2 separate regions of the Homo sapiens genome follow, and region 1 is linked to region 2. Evidence: promoter capture Hi-C in human tissues and cell types (Jung and others, 2019). All regions are on one chromosome and are shown on one strand. Each heading gives the region's core, a stretch centred on a gene start or on the middle of the fragment in contact. The rest is flanking DNA. Distances are from core to core; before and after follow the strand shown. Region 1 holds the start of DNAAF3 (dynein axonemal assembly factor 3). Region 2 holds the start of ZNF579 (zinc finger protein 579).

Region 1 (7,070 bases), core at 2,885-5,384, 410 kb before region 2:
CGGGAGGCTGAGGCAGGAGAATCGCTTGAACCCGGAGGCGGAGGTTGCAATGGGCCGAGATCATGCCATTGCACTCCAGCCTGGGCAACAGAGTGAGACTCCGCCTCTAAAATAAATAAATAAATAACCACCTAGAAGAGGGAATTAGAGTTGCAGATTCCACACTCACCGCAGACAGAGAATATTTGGGGGAAAAGATAACAACACAACAGTAAAAAATAATACAAATTGTAAAATATGGTGTAAGCATTTACATTGTATTACATATTATAGGTAATCTAGAGATGATTTGCGGTGTATGGGACCATGTGTACAGGCTATTTGTAAGTACATCTTTTTTGTTTTGAGACAGTGTCTCACTCTGTTGCCCAGGCTGAATGCAGTTGTGCCATCATAGTTCACTGTTACCTCGACCACCTGAGCTTAAGGGACCCTCCTCCTCCAGCTTCCCAGCTAGCTGGGGCTAGGCATTAGCTACCACACCCAGCTAATGTTTTATTTCTTTTTCTTTTCTTTTTCTTTTTTTTTTTTTTTTTTTTTTTTTTTTTTGAGACGGAGTCTCGCTCTGTCGCCTAGACTGTAGTGCAGTGGCGCGATCCCGGCTCACTGCAAGCTCCGCCTCCCGGGTTCACGCCATTCTTCTGCCTCAGCCTCCGGAGTAGCTGGGACTACAAGCGCCCGCCACCACACCCGGCTAATTTTTTGTATTTTTAGTAGAGACGGGGTTTCACGTGTTAGCCAGGATGGTCTCGATCTCCTGACCTCGTGATCCACCCGCCTCAGCCTCCCAAAGTGCTGGGATTACAGGCGTGAGCCATCGCGCCCGGCGGCTAATTTTTTTTTTTTTTTTTTTGTATTTTTAGTAGAGACGGGGTTTCACCGTGTTAGCCAGGATGGTCTCGATCTCCTGACCTCGTGATCTGCCTGCCTCGGTCTCCCAAAGTGCTGGGATTACAGGCGTGAGCCACCGCGCCCGGCCAATATTTTATTTCTTGTAGAGACGGGGTCTCACTATGTTGACCAGGCCAGTCTCAAACTCGTGGTCTCAAGCAGTCCTCCCACCTCAGGCTCCCAAAGTGTTAGGATTACAGGCGTGAGCCACCGCCCCTGGCAATACTATACAATTTTATAAGGGACTTGAGCATCCTTGGATCTTGGTATCTGCAGGGGTCCTGGAACCAGTCCCCAGTGTTACTGAGGGATGACTGTATATACCTTTGCATATAATATATATACACATAGACATACAAATAGTTTCATGTTAGTTGTTTAAGAACTTAATAGAAGAGAACTATGTGCCTTTAGTAAAATAGATCAGTTTAGTTCTAACTGTTTAAGAACTTTGAACAATCTGTACTGTGCAATGTACTCTGAATTCCCTGGGTCATTAATGACTGATATGGTTTGGATCTGTGTCCCTGCTTAAATCTCATGTTGAATTGTAATCCCCAATATTGGAGGCGGGGCCTGGTGGGAGGTGATTGGGTCACAGGGGCAGATTTCTCCCTTGCTGTTCTCGTGATAGTGAGTTCCCACAAAATCTGGTTATTTGCAAGTGTGCGCCTCTTCCCCACTGCCTCTCTTGCCCCTTTTCCTGCCGTGGAACAGATGCCTGCATCCCCTTCGCCTCCTGTCATGATTGTAAGTTTCCTGAGGCCTTCCCAGCCATACTCCCTGTACAGCCTGTGGAACTGTGAGTCAATTAAACCTCTTTTCTTGGGGCCGGGTGTGATCGCACCCGCCTGTAAACCTAGCACTTTGGCAGGCCAAGGCGGGCGGATCACCTGAGGTCAGCATCTCGAGACCATCCTGGCCAACATGGTGAAACCCCGGCTCTACTAAAAATACAAAACCTTAGCCGGGCATGGTGGTGCATGCCTGTAATCCCAGCTACTTGGGAGACTGAGGCAGGAGAATTGCTTGAATCCAGGAGGCAGAGGTTATGGAGAGCCAAGATCGTGCCATTGCACTCCAATCTGGGCAACGGGACAAGACTCTGCCTCAAATAAATAAATAAATAAACAAACAAACCTGTTTTCTTTTTCTTTCTTTCTTTTTTTTTTAGATGGAGGTTTTGCTTTTGTCGCCCAGGCTGGAGTGCAGTGGTGTGATCTCGGCTCACTGCAACCTCTGCCTCCCGGGTTCAAGTGATTCTCCTGCTTCAGCCTCCCGAGTAGCTGGGACTACAGGCGCCTGCCACCACACCCGGCTAATTGTTGTATGTTTAGTAGAGACGGGGTTTCACCATGTTGAGCAGGATGGTCTCGATCTCCTGACCTCGTGATCTGCCCACCTCAGCCTCCCAAAGTGCTGGGATTACAGGTGTGAACCACTGCACCCAGCCTCTCCTGGAATTTTCTAAGTGGCTCTAAGATGTATTATATTTAGCCCCATTTTACAGGTAGGAGGAGCTGAGGCTCTAAGATGGCAAATTACATCAGAGGGGACCATCATCAATAAATATATTGGATTTTTTTTTTCATCAGAGGTACCACACTGGAAAATACCAAACATTTTTGGTTTTTAGATGGAGTTTCGCTCTCTTTTTTTTTTTTTTTTTTTTTTTTTTGAGACGGAGTCTCGCTCTGTCACCCTGGCTGGAGTGCAGTGGCGCGATCTCAGCTCACTGCAAGCTCCGCCTGCCGGGTTCACGCCATTCTCCTGCCTCGGCCTCCCAAAGTGCTGGGATTAACAGGCGTGAGCCACCGCGCCCGGCCGGAGTTTCGCTCTTGTTGCCTAGGCTGGAGTGCAATGGCGCGATCTCGGCTCACTGTAACCTCCGCCTCCCAGGAAAATAACCAAACTTTTTAATTGTACCATTGAAATGCCAGAATCCCTCTAGGGAGGGGGAGGAGACCAGCGGTCAGAATGCCTGGGTCCTAGCAACAGACCTTGCAGCCCCATCTTCTCCGGTTCCTCCAGGGCTAGGCTGAAGATCAGCATGTGTCGGGCCACAGCTTCCAGATTATTCTCCAGCACAAAGAACTAGAAGGATGGACAGGGCAGAATAATTCTGAGACCTGTTTGCCTGGGTCCTAGGAGACCCAGGAGAGCAGGCCCTCAGCTCTCTCCTTCCACACACCCGAGTTCTGTACACCAGCCTCTTCCTTCAAACACAGAAGTCTGTGTCCCCAGAGCTCTCTTCCCTTCCATTACTCAGAAGACCTCATCCTCGAGCTCTTCCCCACTATAGAACCCAGGAGTTCCAAACCCCAGCCCCTTCCTTCCCCCAAGACGCATCGGTTCGCTCCCAGCTTCTGCCTCCCTCAGATCTAGGAGTCTCCAGCCCCTTCATTCCTGGACCTGAGGTTTTAGAATTTCAATCCCTTCCTCCCTCAAGGACTCGGGAATCTGGGCTCTCATCTTCATCCCAGCTCACGTTGAACCTCCTGCGAGGCCAGAACTTCGCTCGGGACAGGGTCCGCAGCAGGTGCCGTCCATCCACAGAGCCCAGAAGCAGCACATCTAGCTCGGGGTTGCTGTGCACTGTATCGGCCTGGGAGTCTGGGTCCACAGGAGGACCTGGCAAGATGACAGCTGGCTGGGGCACCATGGTGGTTGGCAGAGCGTCCACCGTAGCATCCCCTATAAAAAATGGACTACAAATCCCAGTAGGCGTTCCGCCCGTGGCCTAGGTTCTAAGGGGAGGTGTTTCCTCTGAGTATTCTGGGATTCGCAGTCCGCAGACAGGACCTCGGGGCTGCCCCTGGGAGCGCGCCCTCTGCCGCTGGAGCGTTGGAGAACGTTAGCGCCCCCCTTGCCACCGACGCTGGGACTACGAGCTCTAAAAGGCCGTCTGCTCAGGCTGGGAAGGCAGACGGTGTATCAGACCTTGCGTGCTGGGACTCACTTTCAGCCTGCAGGTCCAGCGCCGGGGACAGGCCCCACCAGGACACGGAGCCGAAGCCGCTGCCGGAGCCGGCAGGTGTGGTCATCACCCTGCGGAAAAGACATTCTGGGAATCGCACACATTGCCCGCCCCGCTCCCCTCTCACCGCCCCTCACTTCTCGCCCCTTTGCCTCCACATGATACCTTGCCCACACCTTTATCCTCCAAATATCCCGGGACGCCCCTTCCTCTCTGCTCAGTGCAGCACTGTGGACCCGCGGCACTCCACAACCGCTGCCCAGAGTCCCCGCCCTTTTCGAGGAATCAAGCAATGGAAGCATGTGGGATGGGACCACAGCGAGCAACTGACCAATGAGAGTGAGCGAGGCCCGCCCTCTACAAACTTTTGGCCAATGGGAGCACTGAGGGCCAGCCTTCCCCCACACCTAGGAGAAGAGGGCGTGTGGACGCGGTTGTCATGACGACGGCGCCGGCGGGGGAAGGGGCGGTGCTAGAACAGGTTGGGGCGGAGTCAGGGTCGGTCCAAATTTCTGGAATGGGGGAGGCCTGGGCTGATTAAAATTGAGAGTGAAGGGAGCTTAATCTTATTTCTTGTTTTTTGTTTTTTTGTTTTCTTCATATGCCTTTGCTCATACGTAACGGAATTTTCATCAATTCAAATAAAGTGAAGTGTCTAGACTTTAGATGGCAGGCTTCTGAGCCCGCTCCCCGCCCCAGCACAACGTGGGCTCTACCACACAGAACAGCCCACAGGTGGGACACTGATGTGCAGGTCATTAAAAATTCAGGGATTTGTGAGCTGGTTATTGTTACACGAAGCCATAATTTAAACTTACAGCTAGATCCTTTTGTAGTTTCTAAGCGGGATGATTGGGTGTTCACGCGCATGCGTGAGATGTGCCTCCCTCAAACCTTGTTACGACATCGGCACATTACTCTTCTGACATGAACAAAAAAATTACAGGTAAATTCTGTAATCGTACAGTTAAATCAACTGCATTAAAATAAGGGTAAGTCGGCCGGGCGCTGTGGCCACGCCTGTGATCCCAACACTTTGGGAGGTCAAGGTGGGCAGATAACTTGAGGTCAGAAGTTGGAGACCAGTCTGGCCAACATGGTGAAACCGCGCCTCGACCTTAAAAAATACAAAAATTAACCGGGCGTGGTGGCACGCACCTGTAATCCCAGCTACTCCGGAGGCTGAGGCAGGAGAGTCTGTTGAACCTGGGAGGCAGAGGTTGCAGTGAACTGAGATCGCGCCTCTGAACTCCAGCCTGGGCGACAGAGCAAGACTCTGTCTCAAAAAAAAAAAAAAGAAAAACCAAAGTCTGAATGAGGCACATCTCTAGATCACCCCAGCACCCAGCACTGGGCTCAGCGCCCAAGGGGACTTGGCTCTCTGCCTCCTCTCCTTGCCCAGACACATGAGCTTAGACCAGTCACCCTTTCTGAGCCTCAGTCTGCTGCTCTGTGAAATGGGAATGTAGCGTGCAGCGGGCAGAGGTGCAGCGGATCTGCCTCCTGAGGGCAGATCTGGGCACTGGGAAGACAATACCTACTGGGGAAACGAAGGTTGAGACCTCAGACATTCCTGCAGAATCAGGCTGGCTAACCAGCCCCTTCCAGGCCAGCTCTAAGCCTGCAAGAGCCCCAGATCCTGGGTTTCTCTCTGGAGAATTAATGCCTTTCCTCCCTATTTCTCCCACTCTCCCAACAAATTCTCAGCAAAGGAACCAGAGTGACATTTTTTTTTTTTGAGATGGAGTCTTGCTGTGACACCCAGGCTGGAGTGCAGTGGCGCGATCTCGGCTCACTGAAACCTCCGCCTCCCGGGTTCAAGCGATTCTCCTGTCCCAGCCTCCCAGGTAGCTGGGACTACAGGCATTTGCCACCACACCAGCTAATTTTTGTATTTGTATTTTATTTTGTGTATATATATATATATACACACACAAAATAAAATACAAATATATGTATATATATTTATATATACACAAAATAAAATACAAATATTTTGTATATATATACAAAATAAAATACAAATATACATATATATACATATATATATATATATATATAGAGAGAGAGAGAGAGAGAGAGAGAGAGAGAGAGTTTCACTCTTGTTGCCCAGGCTGGAGTGCAATGGCGCGATCTCGGCTCACCGCAACCTCCGCCTCCCGGGTTCAAGCCATTCTTCTGCCTCAGCCTCCCGAGTAGCTGGGATTACAGGCAGGCGCCAGGACGCCCGGCTAATTTTGTATTTTTTGTAGAGACAGGGTTTCTCCGTGTTGGTCAGGCTGGTCTCCAACTCACGACCTCAGGTGATCTGCCCGCCTTGGTCTCTCAAAGTGTTGGGATTACAGGTGTGAACCACCGAGCCAGGCGATTTATTTATTTATTATTTTTTTTTTAGAGACGGAGTCTTGCTCTGTCGCCCAGGCTGGAGTGCAGTGGCACGATCTTGGCTCACTGCAACCTCCGCTTCCCGGGTTCTAGCAATTCTCCTGCCTCAGCCTCCCAAGTAGCTGGGATTACAGGCGCACGCTGCCACGCCCAGCTAATTTTTTGTATTTTAGTAGAGACGAGGTTTCACCGTGTTGCCCAGGCTGGTCTCGAATTCCTGAGCTCAGGCAATCCACCTGCCTTGGCCTCCCAAAGCGCTAGGATTACAGGCGTGAGCCACCGTGCCCAGCTCCAGCGATTCTTTTTTATTTTTAGTAGAGACGGGGTTTCACCATGTTAGCCAGGCTGGTCTCGAACTCCTGACTTCAAGAGTTCCGCCGGCCTCAGCCTCCCAAAGTGCTGGAATTACCGGTGTGAGCCACTGCACCTGGCCCAGAGTGATCTTAAACATAAATCAAATAATGTCTCCCACCTCTTCAAATCCTCCAAAGTCTTCCCGCTGCACCTGGACACATTCCCCGCTCCTTAGCTTGGCTCCCTATGCCCTATGCAATCTGCAGTCATCCACCCCTGAAGCCACATCAGCCTCCTGGCTCCTTGGAGAACACACCAAGCCGTTTGAACCCCAGGGCCTTTGCAACTTGGGATTCTTTTGCCTTAAATTATCTTCCCCCTCATCTTTGTTTTCTATATATTTATTTTTGAGACAAAGTCTTGCTCTGTTATCCAGACTTGAGTTCAGTGGTGTGATCATAGCTCACTGCAGCCTCAACCTCTCAGGCTCAAGCAGTCCTCCCACCTCAGTCCCCTGAGTAGC
Region 2 (6,389 bases), core at 2,338-4,837:
GTAAGGCGCGGAGCTTCCACAGGGCAGTGGTGAGGATAATCGCGCGGAGCTTCCACAGGGCAGCGGTGACGATGATCTATCTTCTCACATTCCTGTTTCTTCTCAACCCAGCCTTCACCGGCTTCTTGCTTGGTTGAGGGCCACATATTTTCTGATGCATCTGTGTCCTTCCTGCTCTGAACCCAAGTTCAGAGTTGGCTGGACAAATCCTGACTCGCCCCAGCGCCCCCAGCCTGCCCCACCTCCACAGAACACCTCGCTCTCTTGGATTTCACGAACTCACATTTATTCACAGACAGACAAAGGGACAAGGACAGACCTTTGCTCACTGGGGACCCCCAGGGTCTGGCAGTTCCAAAGAGGTGATGGTGTCCAGTGTGTGAAACGGGGGACAGGGAGGCGGGGGCGTCCCCACCAGTCTCCATCCCTCTGGCCAACTGTCCGCCGCCTTTTTTTCCAAGTCGTCCTGCCTTAAGACACATGTTGGGGTGAGCGGTTCCTAACCAGCATCAGGGGTTCTGGGGGCGGGCGATGGGGGAGGAAGGGGCAGTCCAGGGCCCCCCACTCCTTAGTGTCAAGGGCGTGAAGGGGACGGGTGGGTAGACAGAGGAGGTGGCTCCTTCAACTTCCCTCCTCCATTCTGCAAACCGGGGAGCTCAGGCGGAGCGGCGGAGGGCAGGGCGGCGAAGGTCAGGAGGCCAGGCCCCCCAGCCCGCGCAGGTGAGCCTTGCTGTCTACCTCTTCCTCCTCCATCTCGAAGGCTGAGTGGTCTTGGCTGTCGAAACAGGAGGCGCTGAGGAAGACAGGGGGAGCCGGCGGGGACTGGGGTGGGGTCCCCGGAGAGGGCGGCTCTTCCTTAATGTTTGCGAGGGGCAGCGGGAGCCCTTCTTCCTCCTGCTCGGCCTTCAGGGGCGGCGGGGGCGGTGGCGGCGACGTCGGGGCCTGGGCCTGCAGTGCCTGCAGCGCGGCGGCCCTCTCCAGCTCTGCGCGGTGGCAGCGCTGGTGGCGCAGGAGGCTGTAGGCGCGCGAGAAGCGGCGCGGGCAGCGGGGGCACGGGTGCGGGGCTGGGCCCCCCGCGTGCACCTGTGCGTGGCGCGCCAGGTCGGCCAGGCGCTTGAACTCCCGCTGGCAGCGCACGCACTGGAAGGGGCGCGCTCCCGAGTGGGTCACCCCGTGCTGCCGCAGGTGCGCCCGGCGCCTGAAACCTTTGCCGCACTCTGGGCACCAGAAGCGGGGCTCCCCGGCGGGGGGCCGAGCCGGGGCGGCGTCGCCTCCGTTCTGCCCTTCTCCCCCTTCCGAGGCACCCCCGCACTCCGCCCCCTCGCCCCCCTCCGGCCCCTTGGCTGAGTTCCGTGCACCCGAGGCCTTGTCGTCCTTCTTGCCCGCCGCGGGCAGCGGGGCCAGCAGGCTGAGGGGGCCGTGGACGCGGCGGTGCTGGCGGAGGTAGGAGGCGAGGCGGAAGGCCAGGCCGCAGTCTGGGCACACGAAAGGGCGGTCGGTGGAGTGGACCAGCCGGTGGCGCGACAGGGACCAGGGCCTGGCGAAGGCCTTGAGGCAGATGGAGCACTGGTGTCGCTTGGGGCGTGGCGGGGGCCCCCCTTCCCCTTCCTGTTCGCCCTCGGGGCGCAGACACGGGTGCGCCTTGAGCTCGCCCTTGGTGGCGAAGGCTTCGCGGCAGCGCAGACACAGCAGCGTCCAGTCTGCCTGGAGCAGGACCTGTTTCTCCTCCTGCCGCCCGGCCGCCAGCGCCAGCTCGGCCCTCAGCTCTGCTGCCCCGGCCTCGGCCTCCTCCGACTCCGACTCCCGGGGCTCCGCGGCGCTGGTGGGCGCAGCCAGCGTGGAAGGCTCCCCCGCAGGCCACGTCTCAGGCCACGCTGCGACCGCCTCCTCCTCCGTGGCCCCTGCTGCAGCGGTGGTGGGCGGCTCCGAGCCCTCGTCCTGCGGGCCCCAGCTGGGTTCGGCCGTCTCCTTGGCCACCCTCTCGATGGCCAGCTCGACCTCGCCGCCCGCGTGCTCCTGAGCCAGGTGGCGCCTGAGCTGGGCCGGTTCTGGGAAGGTGCGGGGGCAGGCGGCGCAGCGCAGCGGGGGCTGGGGCCCGTGGCCGCGCAGGTGGCGGGAAAGGTGGGCCGGCCGGCGGAAGGCCTTGGGGCACAGCGGGCAGGCGTGGGGCCGGAGCCCCGAGTGGCTCAGCCGGTGCCGGGAGAGGTAGTAGGGGAAACGGAAGAGGCGGCCGCAGGTGGGGCAGGGCAGGGGCGCCCTAGGGGCTCCAGCGCCCCCCCTGCCACGGCCACGGCCCCGACCACGGCCTCGGCCACGGCCCCGGCCTCGGCCACGGTGAGGTGGGCTGCCCTGGGCGGGTGGAGGAGGCTGCGGATCCATGCCTGTGGGGAGAGAGGGGAGAGATGGGAAGCGGGGCAGAGATAAAAAGAGGTGCGTGGGGTGTGGCAGAAAGAGAAGCAGAGACAGTCAGAGATGGAGAGGCAGAGAGGGTCAGGTATTTAGCCAGGAGAGAGATATGAGACAGAGACAAAGATGAGAGACACCGAGGGGAGGCCAGAGATGGAGAGACAGGAGGAGAGAGATCAGAGACAGAGCGACAGAGCAGGGAATAGAGACAGGAGAAGGCAGAGATGGGAGACACAGAGAAGTGGGGATGGACAGACAGAGACCAGGAGTCGCAGAAAGACAGGATGGTGAAAGGCAGAGCAGAGAAGAGACAGAGGAGAGTGAGGAACACCCAGCAGAGAGACAGAGACACAGAGAAGAGGAAACAAAGAGACTTGGAGAACCAGAGGCAGAGATAGTGCAAGAGCAGAGATCAGAAGAGCAGTGGCGGGTTGGGGGCCGGAGAGACAGGGAGACAGAGACACAGAGGGAGTGAACTGGGCAGAGGCACGGAGGGGGACAAAGTCAGCGAACCGCTTCTGCTCCAGGTCCCCCGGCCAGGCTGAACGTTTTGGGAGGGGCTGGGACACAGCCCATGGGGCCTGAGTGGAGGGGGTGGGATTTGAAGCCGGTAGGCCCCGGAAATAGAGTGTGTTCTCAGATGCCAGGGGCTGGGAGAGGTCGGGGAGTAGGAGGGTTCAGACTTCTGGTCTGAGTTGGGAGGGGGCTAGGGGCCCAGACTCTTGGGACTGATGGGGATGGGAGCTGGGGATTGAGACTCCTGGGTCCAGGTCATGACGGATTGGGGAATCTGGACTCTGGTATGGAGGAGGTGTGGATTCCTGGGTCCCGGTGGAGGAGGGGCTGGGGAGGGGGCTGGGCTCCCAGGACAAGGGGGAGGCGGGGGCTGGGGACCCAGCTGCCGGGAATCCCCAGGGAGGAGGCGACTGAGGGCCGGACCCCTGGACTCGGGAGGGAGGCTGGTGGGGGTCGGGGGTCCCAGGTCCTAGAGGGGGGCCGATCTCCTCCGGGCCAAGCCTGCAGCTCCCCGAAGGCATGATCAGCAGAATTGGGGCCGGGTCGAGGCCTTGAGGATTTCTCAGCCCTGGGCCTGGGGCTTGGTCCTGGTCGCTGGGGCTGGGTTCTTACCTCGCCTCCTTGGCTCCTTTCTTCCTTCCCCACGGCCGGCCAAACGCGGACGGTGGTGGCGGGGAGGGAGGGGGGCCTGAGCGTGGTGGGGGGTGGAGGAGGAGGCTGGGCTCGGTGTCACTGCCTAAGCCTTCCCCCCGGAAACCTGGCCTTTCCTCGGAGCCTGAAAGAGGAAAGACTGGCTGGGAAGCCGGAAGCGGGAGGACGGGGGACCTGGAGAGGGGAGGGAAGGCAGCTTGCACTACAGGGTCCTGTGAGGGGAGGGGGCTGGGGGCCTGTCCCCCGGGCTCCCAGAGGGCGGAGGGTGCTGAGGGCCTGGAACACTGGGTCCAGCTACTCCCGGCTCCCCAACATGCACACACACATATTCATTCATTCCTTCAACAAATACACATTTATCAGGTCCTGTCTGTGCCAGGCACTGTGTCAGGCCAGGGGAGTGGCCGGGGGAGGAAGATGAATGAATCAGTGACAGAGGCTTCAGGAAGTACTGGCACTCTGGATCAGAACCTGGCTCCAGCCTTCCCTTGGCTGTCTGGGTGAAGGATTCTCCCACTTCGAGCCTCGGTTTCCCCCTTTGTGAAAGCCCCTGCATATACTCATTCAACCCTAAGCGACCAATATTTACTGAATATCTACTACGGGCCAGCCTGCATATATTTGTCTACATATACGCATATTCACTGGGACCTTAGCAGCCAATGTTTACTGAGCACCTACTATGGGCTGGTGCTGTCCTTGGTGCTGGAGTCACAGTGGCAAAAACCGGAGCTCACTGTCTGATGGGGAAGGCAGATAGATACGGATCAATCACGCTGGAGTGCATGTGGGGGAACGTGTGCTCCGAGGCAGGGAACTGCTATGGGAATGCAGAGAACAGAAGGCACTGAGCTGAGCTCACACTGGGAGGAGGTGATTCCTGAGGTCTTCCTGGAGGCAGCAATGTTTCAGCTGAAATTGGCAGAATGAAACCAACCTGGCGACATCTCAGAAACCTATTCTGGAGCAGAAAAGGCATTTTGCAGGAGTATACCCACAGCTTGACGCTGTTTGTTTAAGGTTACATTCCTGCCAAACAGTGCTAATGAGAGTGCGAGCAAACAGGTCCTTTCATACACGGCTGGGGCAAGTAGAACCTGGAACATTCTTACCGAGCCAGCAATTCCAGGAATTTATTCTTCAGAGGCATCTACTCGGAACTGCACAAAATAATGTCTGCACCAGGTTAATCATTGCAGTACTGCACATCACTGCAAACAGCTGAAACCAATCTAAACACCCATCTGTAGGAGAGCTGAGTAATAAATCATGACTGATCCACCCAGTGGAATACTAGGTGTCCATAGAAAAGAACAAAGAAGCTCACCGTGTGCATATATGGTAAGTCTCCAAGTGATAACCTGTAGAAGAGAAAAATGGAAGGTCAAGTACAGCCTGCAGCCTGTTCTGGGTTTGTGTGTGTTCTGGGATTGTGTCCAGATGAACTGGAACAAGAGAGAAGAAACTGAAACTGGCAACATAGTCTAACTTCCAGGACAGAAATTTACTACACTCTATCCTTGTTTTTTTGTTTGTTTGTTTTTTTTTGTTTTGTTTTGTTTTCTTTTGAGATGAGATCTCCTTCTGTTGCCCAGGCTGGCTGGAGGAAGTGCAGTGGTGTGATCTCGGCTCACTGCAGCCTCGACCTCCCGGGCTCAAGCAATCCTCCCACCTCAGCCTCCTGAGTAGGTGGGGCTACAGGAGTGTGCCACCATGTCTGGCTAATTTTTGTATGTTTTGTAGAGATGGGGTCTCCCTATGTTGCCCAGGCTGGGCTTGAACTCCTGGGCTCAAGCAATCCACCTGCCTCGGCCTCCCAAAGTGCTGGAATTACAGACATTAGCCACTGTGCCCGGCTTTTTGTACTTTTTGAATTCAAAACCGTGTGAATGTGCTATATACTCAAAAAAGTAAAGGAGGCCAAGCATGGTGGCTCACGCCTGTAATCTCAGCACTTTGGGAGGCCCAGGTGGGCAGATCACCTGAGGCCAGGAGTTCAAGACCAGCCTGGCCCACATGGTGAAACCCCATCTCTACAAAAGGTACAAAAATTAGCCAGGCATAATGGCACATGCCTATAATCCCAGCTACTCAGGAGGCTGAGGCAGGAGAATGGCTTGAACCTGGGAGGCAGAGGTTGCAGTGCGCTGAGATCGTGCCATTGCACTCCAGCCTGGGCAACAGAGCAAAACTCCACCTCAAAAAAAAAAAAAAAAAAAAAAAGAAAAGAAAAAAGTAAAGGAAAAAGAAATACATGGGGATTATAAAAATAAATGAAATGAAAAATAATAGCTTACTCTTGTGAGCGTATTACAAATATGATCCCATTTACTCCTTGCTTTATGAAGTAGGTACCATTATTTTTCCCTTTTACAGAGGATGAAAGTGAGATACTAGAAGTTTCCAAACCTAGCGAGTCTCAGTAAGAAGTTTCACTTCACAAACAGATAGGAGAAATGATAGTGGATCAGAAGCATGATTTAAAAGAAATAATAAAAGGCCGGGCGTGGTGGCTCATGCCTGTAATCCCAGCACTTTGGGAGGCCGAGGGAGGCAGATCACTTGAGGTCAGGAGTTCAAGACCAGCCTGGCCAACACGGTGAAACCGTCTCTACTAAAAATACAAAAATTAGCTGGGCATGGTGGTGCGCGCCTGCAATCCCAGCTAGTCCGGAGGCTGAGGCAGGAGAATCGCTTGATCCTGGGAGGCGGAAGTTGCAGTGAGCCGAGATCGTGCCACTGTACTCCAGCCTGCGACAGGGCAAGACTCCGTCTCAAATAAATAAATAAATAAATAAATAAATAAATAAATAAAT

The links. Contacts are between HindIII fragments. The study calls those that stand out against the background at their distance.
Region 1: the fragment with the promoter of DNAAF3 here is called in contact with the fragment with the promoter of ZNF579 in region 2 in 1 of the 25 tissues and cell types used here (dorsolateral prefrontal cortex).

The regions. Positions count from the first base shown.
Region 1 is chr19:55,162,479-55,169,548 of GRCh38, forward strand. It overlaps DNAAF3 (dynein axonemal assembly factor 3), which reads right to left and starts at 4,135. Exons shown (of 12, transcript NM_001256715.2): 1 at 4,045-4,135; 2 at 3,851-3,939; 3 at 3,380-3,522; 4 at 2,892-2,985. The coding sequence starts at 3,935. It overlaps DNAAF3-AS1 (DNAAF3 antisense RNA 1), which reads left to right. Exons shown (of 4, transcript XR_007067345.1): 3 at 2,066-2,322; 4 at 3,341-4,426. LOC124904795 (small nucleolar RNA U13) reads left to right here and starts at 4,693; the gene lies at 4,693-4,796. RefSeq lists a silencer at 3,515-3,746. The HindIII fragment of the contact is 9,836 bases long and covers 1-7,070 here.
Region 2 is chr19:55,577,261-55,583,649 of GRCh38, forward strand. ZNF579 (zinc finger protein 579) reads right to left here and starts at 3,588. Exons shown (of 2, transcript NM_152600.3): 1 at 3,535-3,588; 2 at 1-2,381. The coding sequence starts at 2,379. The coding sequence ends at 691. RefSeq lists silencers at 3,792-3,931, 4,643-4,937. The HindIII fragment of the contact is 17,237 bases long and covers 1-6,389 here.